Regions from separate parts of the Homo sapiens genome. Here region 2 is linked to region 1. The links are contacts of gene promoters, found by promoter capture Hi-C in blood cells and fetal thymus (Javierre and others, 2016). All regions are on one chromosome and are shown on one strand. Each heading gives the region's core, a stretch centred on a gene start or on the middle of the fragment in contact. The rest is flanking DNA. Distances are from core to core; before and after follow the strand shown. Region 1 holds the start of PNMA1 (PNMA family member 1). Region 2 overlaps HEATR4 (HEAT repeat containing 4).

Region 1 (3,291 bases), core at 1-2,500:
TTTACAGGAAGTAGGGATATTTTTATAAAACAATTGTGTCCTCCCCACATTTTGCTATGTTAATATTTGCTTCTAACAATTTGCAGCTGTTTCACTTTTTCCTCATTTGTCTCTAAGTTGAAGGCTTTGTTGGAGGGGACAGAGCACAGGAACAGCCTTGACAGTCTGTAATTATTGTACAGATATTTTAATAGCATATAAATAAGTATATTCCTTTTATTTTGAAACAAAAATGATCAGACACTGCCTTTTGTGTGTTTGCTGCCTGTGGCATCCTTTTTTAAAAAGACTGTTACATATTAAAATAGTGTACATATATAAATATTACCTCTTTTGCTGTACAGTTGTGATAGAGACTGAAGATTTTATTTTTTGTGTGCTTTTTATAAGAAAAAAATTAATACACTAAAGAATCTTGCTGATGTGATTGTAATGTACCTATGTAACTTATTTACTTTTGAATGTTCTTCTGTATCTTTAAACCTTTTATTAAATAAGGTTTTAAAAATTCAGAGTTGAATGCTTTGTTCTCTTGGGATTTTCACCATCTGGGGTTGATGTAAGTGCGCCTTGTCTTGCTTGCAGGGAGATTACTCGACATTTTTGAACCATAAGGATTCTCTTTTAGCAGCCTATTGTCAATGATGCCAGCCAGGAAAAGGAAAATAATACACTAATGTTTGCCTGGCTAAAAGATGACTCAGTAGACACAGACAGATTTTTACAAAATTTTAGACAAGAAAAAGTCTAAACTCAGTGTCTCACACAAATACACAGAAATGGCGCACTCCGACATTTTGGCTTCATTGGGATGAAATATGCAGGGTGCACAGTGTGGTCAGGGGCAACGGGAAGCCAGGGTTCTGAGGAGAGTATTTTCACGTGCAGGGTGGACTGGCTGAGCAACCCGAGTAGACAAGTCCACCATGAGGGATGCATTTCCAACAATATCATCTTAAATCCACTCCAGGATTGGGTTATTATTTTTAAAACACGGTGCTTAGTAGTAGTTGTTTACTGTTAAAATGCTAAATTATGAAAAAGGAAATGCGCCATCAGAGAAACAAATGCCCGAGCCCCTCGCTGGCTCCACGGCAACCGCTCGACCCCCGCGAGCCGCCGGAGCAGGCGTGCCTCGCGCCGGCTGGGACACCGTTGCCATGGAGACGCCCGAGCAGCTCCGCCGCGGGGGCGGGACGGGGCGGGGCGGGGCGGACGCCGCTCGCCGGCTGGCCCCATCCTCCACTGCAGCAGTAACGTCGCGGCGGGTTGCGGGTAGGACTGGACGCCAGAGCAGCCGCGCAGCGCCTGAACCGCTGCGGGCCGCCGCGGCCGCCCCTTCCCACCCTCGCCTCTGCTGTCTCCAGCCTCGCTTCTCCGACTTTCCTGCTCCTCTGCTGCCTTCGTTTCTGGTCCTCGGCCGTCCTCGCCGCCCGCCCAGAGGAGTCCCCGCGCCCGCCAAGAAGCCGCTTTCCGCTGGCCCGCAGCCGCCGCGACTTCGGCACAGTTTCTCCCTCTGGCTAGTCTCCCAAACGGCCGCTCCTCGCCCGCGGGAAGACCAGGCTGCGACCGCGAACGCCCGATCCTCTCCAGGAGCCGCAGCGAGCGCCCGGCGGCCACGCCCCGCGACCACACCCCGGCGGCTCTCGGCCCAGCGCGCCTGCCTTCGCCGCCCGCCGTCGCTCCTCGCCCGCTGCACGACGACGCGACGCCCCTGCTGCAGGCGGCGGACCCGACCGGACCCAGACCCAGACGCAAGATGGCGACGGCCGCGTGACTGCCTCAGCGTCCCCGAGCTCGGCTCCGAGTGCACCTACGGACTGACTGTGGGGGCAGAGAAGGGCGAGATCAGGACTCTGTCTTTGTTAATCGTGACTGCATGAAGGTCGCCTCCCTCGGGCCTACTTGGTGGGAGTGTCTGGTATTGTTCTAAGGCCAGGAGCACGGTGAGCCACAGTCTGTTGGTAGAATTTGGCGTCTTGATAGTTGAGAAAATGGCGATGACACTGTTGGAAGACTGGTGCCGGGGGATGGATGTGAACTCCCAGAGAGCTCTGTTAGTCTGGGGCATCCCAGTGAACTGTGATGAGGCTGAAATCGAAGAGACCCTCCAGGCTGCGATGCCCCAGGTCTCCTACCGAATGCTTGGGAGAATGTTCTGGAGGGAAGAAAATGCGAAAGCAGCCTTATTAGAGCTCACTGGCGCTGTAGATTACGCCGCGATCCCCAGGGAGATGCCGGGCAAAGGAGGGGTCTGGAAAGTGTTATTTAAGCCCCCAACTTCTGATGCTGAATTTTTAGAAAGATTGCACCTCTTCCTAGCTAGAGAGGGGTGGACCGTGCAAGATGTTGCCCGTGTCCTTGGGTTTCAGAACCCTACTCCGACCCCGGGCCCAGAGATGCCAGCAGAGATGCTAAACTATATTTTGGATAATGTTATTCAGCCTCTTGTTGAGTCCATATGGTACAAGAGGCTGACACTTTTCTCGGGGAGGGACATCCCAGGGCCTGGAGAGGAAACCTTTGATCCCTGGCTGGAGCACACTAATGAGGTCCTAGAGGAGTGGCAGGTGTCCGATGTAGAAAAGAGGCGGCGGTTGATGGAGAGTCTTAGAGGCCCCGCCGCTGATGTTATTCGCATCCTTAAGTCCAACAACCCCGCGATAACCACTGCCGAATGCCTGAAGGCGCTTGAGCAGGTGTTTGGGAGCGTTGAGAGCTCTAGGGATGCCCAGATCAAATTTCTGAACACTTATCAGAACCCGGGAGAAAAATTGTCTGCTTATGTCATTCGTCTGGAGCCTCTGCTACAGAAGGTGGTAGAGAAGGGGGCCATTGATAAAGATAATGTGAACCAGGCCCGCCTAGAGCAGGTCATTGCCGGGGCCAACCACAGCGGGGCCATCCGAAGGCAGCTGTGGCTTACCGGGGCTGGGGAAGGGCCAGCCCCAAACCTCTTTCAGTTGCTGGTGCAGATCCGTGAGGAGGAAGCCAAGGAGGAGGAGGAGGAGGCTGAGGCCACCCTTCTGCAGTTAGGCCTGGAAGGGCACTTCTGAGTGCCAGGAAAGGCAGCTTTAGTGCAGACCTAGATCACAGCTACTTTTCTTGTCCCTGTGGGGTCTTACAGATGTGTCTCTGAGTAGTAAAGGCTTAGCCTTGTTCTGTTTTGTTGTTTTTTGGAGGGGAAGGTTAGTCAGGCCTGAGTATTCATGTAACATTCTAAAATTGTGCCAGCGAGCACCGTGAACGACTGCAATGCAAGCGGGTCTTGCTGGCTAAAATGCCAGGTAA
Region 2 (3,291 bases), core at 1-2,500, 200 kb after region 1:
AGTGCTGGGATTACAGGCATGAGCCACCGCACCTGACAAAATCTTAAAATATGATTCACGGGCTTAGCTGTGCCACTCCTTGGGCAGTCAGCTAACCTCTCTGAGCTTCAAATTACCTATCTATAAAATGAGACTAGTGGTAGACAAAGGGATAACAAACCTTTCCCCTTCCTACTTGAGAATTTGAACTTCAGTTAAATGCCCACCTGTTCCCCTAAACACCTGATAAGAACTATCTTTATAGGCAACATTGGTTATGATATAAATCCTGTTTGATAAATTACATTGGGACTGAGAAGAGCTATAAGTGAAATATAAATACTTGATAGGGACACCATAGTTTGGGCCTCCCTGGATACTGTAACTTATAACAGGCAGGCCCTTTGTGGACCCTAGAATTGTGTCTATGGAGTTTTTATAAGAGATATTAGTTCCTGTAAAGCATAAATTCACCCAGTGAATAAACAACATGCTCCTGTGCTGTCCCCAAGACTCTGTGGAATGCTCAAGACAGCCTCAAGAACTGCAGCCAAAGCCAGGTGTGGTGGCTCACACTTGTAATTCCAGCACTTTGGAAGGCCAAGGCAGGTGGATCACCTGAAGTCAAGGGTTCAAGACCAGCCTGGCCAACATGGTGAAACCTCATCTCTACCAAAAATACAAAAATTAGCCAGGCGTGGTGACAGGTGCCTGTAGTCCCAGATACTCGGAAGGCTGAGGCAGAAGAATCGCCTGAACCCAGGAAGCAGAAGTTGCAGTGAGCCAAGATTGTGCCATTGTACTCCAGCCTGGGCAACAGAGCAAAAACTCTATCTCAAAAAAAAAACAAAAACAAAAACAAAAAAACTCCAGCCAACAGGGATGCCTGATGCTGCTGCCCTGTTGACAAACTATGCTCCTGTCCCATATTCTTCTGGTGCCATGCATGGCCCATGACAGTCTTATGAACCTTACTGTTTAGTTGAACCAAAAAAGACTCCCTAGTGAGCTCTACAATGATACCTACCTTGCCTAATTCAACCAAGGTTGAAAGATAACAAGATAATGTAAAAACACTATATTATAAAGCACTACCTAAATATAATTGTTCTTACAAATATAAAGGCTCAGCTGGGGGCGGTGGCACACGTCTGTAATCCCAGCACTTTGGGAGGCTGAGGCAGGTGGATCACAAGGTCAGGAGATCGAGACCATCCTGGCTAACACGGTGAAATCCCATCTCTACTAAGAATACTAAAAATTAGCTGGGTGCCTGTAGTCCCAGCTACTCGGGAGGCTGAGGCAGGAGAATGGTGTGAACCCAGGAGGCGGAGCTTGCAGTGAGCTGAGATCACACCACTGCACTCCAGCCCAGGTGACAGAACAAGACTCCGTCTCAAAAAATATATAAAATAAATAAATATATATATATATATATATATATATATATATATATATATATATATATATATATATATGGGCTCATGGGGCAAATTGGTTGCTTTTAATCACTAAAACTAATGGTGTAGTTCACTGTAGCCTAGCTGGAAACATTCTTCTTCGGCTTAAATATAGCTGTTTAGAGGCCAGATGATAAAGGATTGGGAATTGGCATACCAGCACACAGGTGAGCTTTAACACCTTGAGCAGAAAATCCTGCCCATCTGAAGGGCTCAGCTAAACTGTAATTATATTACATAGCACTAAGCAACTGCAGCTGGGACTGAGGTTGGCCACCACATGGCTGTAGGAAGGAAGCTGTGTGTGAGAAAAGCAAAGGGGCTAGTACTCTCTTACCTGGCTCTTTTGATCACAGACAAGACCATCCAGGACTTGCCGGAGGTTCTACTGCCTGCCCTAGAGGCTGCTCTTTGTGACAAGAATGCCCATGTGCGGATGGCAGCAGCAATATGCCAATATGCCATACAGTCACATAATCCCCTTGCCCGGAACATCATGCAGACTGCCCTTCTGAAGGGTGAGTAACTCCCTGTTACTTCTGACCTGGAAATATGGGATAGACATCTCACTATCAGCTTTCCCAGTCCTTTCCTCTCCACTGTGATGCTCTGCAATGTCTGCTGTATTGGGTTTAGATTTATGTTAGACCATTTGAAAATTAGGACCAGACACTGTCGCTCACACCTGTAATCCCAGCACTTTGGGAGGCCAAGGCGACAGGATCACCTGAGCATAGGAGTTCTAAACCAGCCTGGGCAACATAACAAGACCCCATCTCTATAAAAAATTTTAAAATTAGCCAGGTGCGGTGGTGTGCTCCTGTAGACCCAGCTACCTAGGAGGCTGAGGCAGACCTATATATACATGCTTATCAGAGTCAGCTTGAGCCCAGGGGGTTGAAGCTGCAATAAGCCACAATGGTGCCACTGTACTCCAACCTGGGTGACAGAGCAAGACCCTGTCTCTAAAAAAAAGGAAAAAAAGAAAATTTGCTCTTTCTAGGTACTTTAACAAAACAGGTACACTGCCACCAAGTGGTAGCTGGACTAAATTTTTTTTTTTTTTTTTTTTTTTTTTGAGACAGAGTTTCACTCTCGTTGCCCAGGCTGGAGTGCAATGGTGGGATCTCAGCTCACACTGCAACCTCCGCCTCCTGGGTTCAAGCAATTCTCCTGCCTCGGCTTCCCAAGTAGCTGGGATTACAGGCGCATGCCACCACGCCTGGCTGATTTTTGTATTTTTAGTAGAGATGGGGTTTTACCATGTTGGCCAGGCTGGTCTTGAACTCCTGACCTTAGGTGATCCGCCCACCTTGGCCTCCCAAAATGTGAGGACTACAGGTGTTAGCCACCGTGCCCAGCCAATATGATTCTTCTCAATATGGTTTAAATAAGAAATTGTATTTCTAGACTGAGTGGGGCACAAGGAAGTGAGATATCAGGTGGGGTAGCAGCCTTGGGTATCAATCCAAAGGCTGTTCTCTAGGGGGAAAACACATCACCATTCTGAACTCTTTTTCACCCAACTGTGGCAGGTAACAGTGTGGATAGCTGGGCTGCAGCTCAGTGCTTGGCTCTGGAAGGTACTGCTACTTACCCTGTGATTAAGAGGATCCTCCACCAGCTGTTTACAAAGAAGAATGAGGACACTGAGGAACAGTCTTATATCCTCCTGAGCTATCTGAGTGAGAAGACAGTATGTGTCCATTACCGGGTCAGACACAGTTTTGGGGAGCAATTAGGTCTTTGAGGTCAGTGAATGTAAGCAATCTGAAATGCAGCTGGGGCCGGGGCAGTGGCTTATGCCTGTAATCCCAACACTTCGGGAGGCCGAGGCAGGTGGATCACTTGA

What was found. Contacts are between HindIII fragments. The CHiCAGO score rates a contact against its expected background, and 5 or more counts as called.
Region 2: a fragment that was not itself captured here is called in contact with the fragment with the promoter of PNMA1 in region 1 in 4 of 17 cell types (M0 macrophages, M1 macrophages, M2 macrophages and 1 more); the score reaches 8.4 in M0 macrophages.

What each region holds. Positions count from the first base shown.
Region 1 is chr14:73,712,343-73,715,633 of GRCh38, reverse strand. PNMA1 (PNMA family member 1) reads left to right here and starts at 1,250. Exons shown (of 1, transcript NM_006029.5): 1 at 1,250-3,291. The coding sequence starts at 1,995. The coding sequence ends at 3,056. It overlaps MIDEAS (mitotic deacetylase associated SANT domain protein), which reads left to right. Exons shown (of 13, transcript NM_001367710.1): 13 at 1-512. RefSeq lists enhancers at 785-854, 1,795-1,854 and silencers at 1,075-1,354, 1,535-1,704. The HindIII fragment of the contact is 4,676 bases long and covers 1-3,291 here.
Region 2 is chr14:73,507,978-73,511,268 of GRCh38, reverse strand. It overlaps HEATR4 (HEAT repeat containing 4), which reads left to right. Exons shown (of 18, transcript NM_001220484.1): 8 at 1,796-1,957; 9 at 2,975-3,135. It also overlaps a transcript of ACOT1 not described here. Among named protein-coding and RNA genes, the nearest start is that of RIOX1, 19 kb to the right of the region's middle. The HindIII fragment of the contact is 5,736 bases long and covers 1-3,291 here.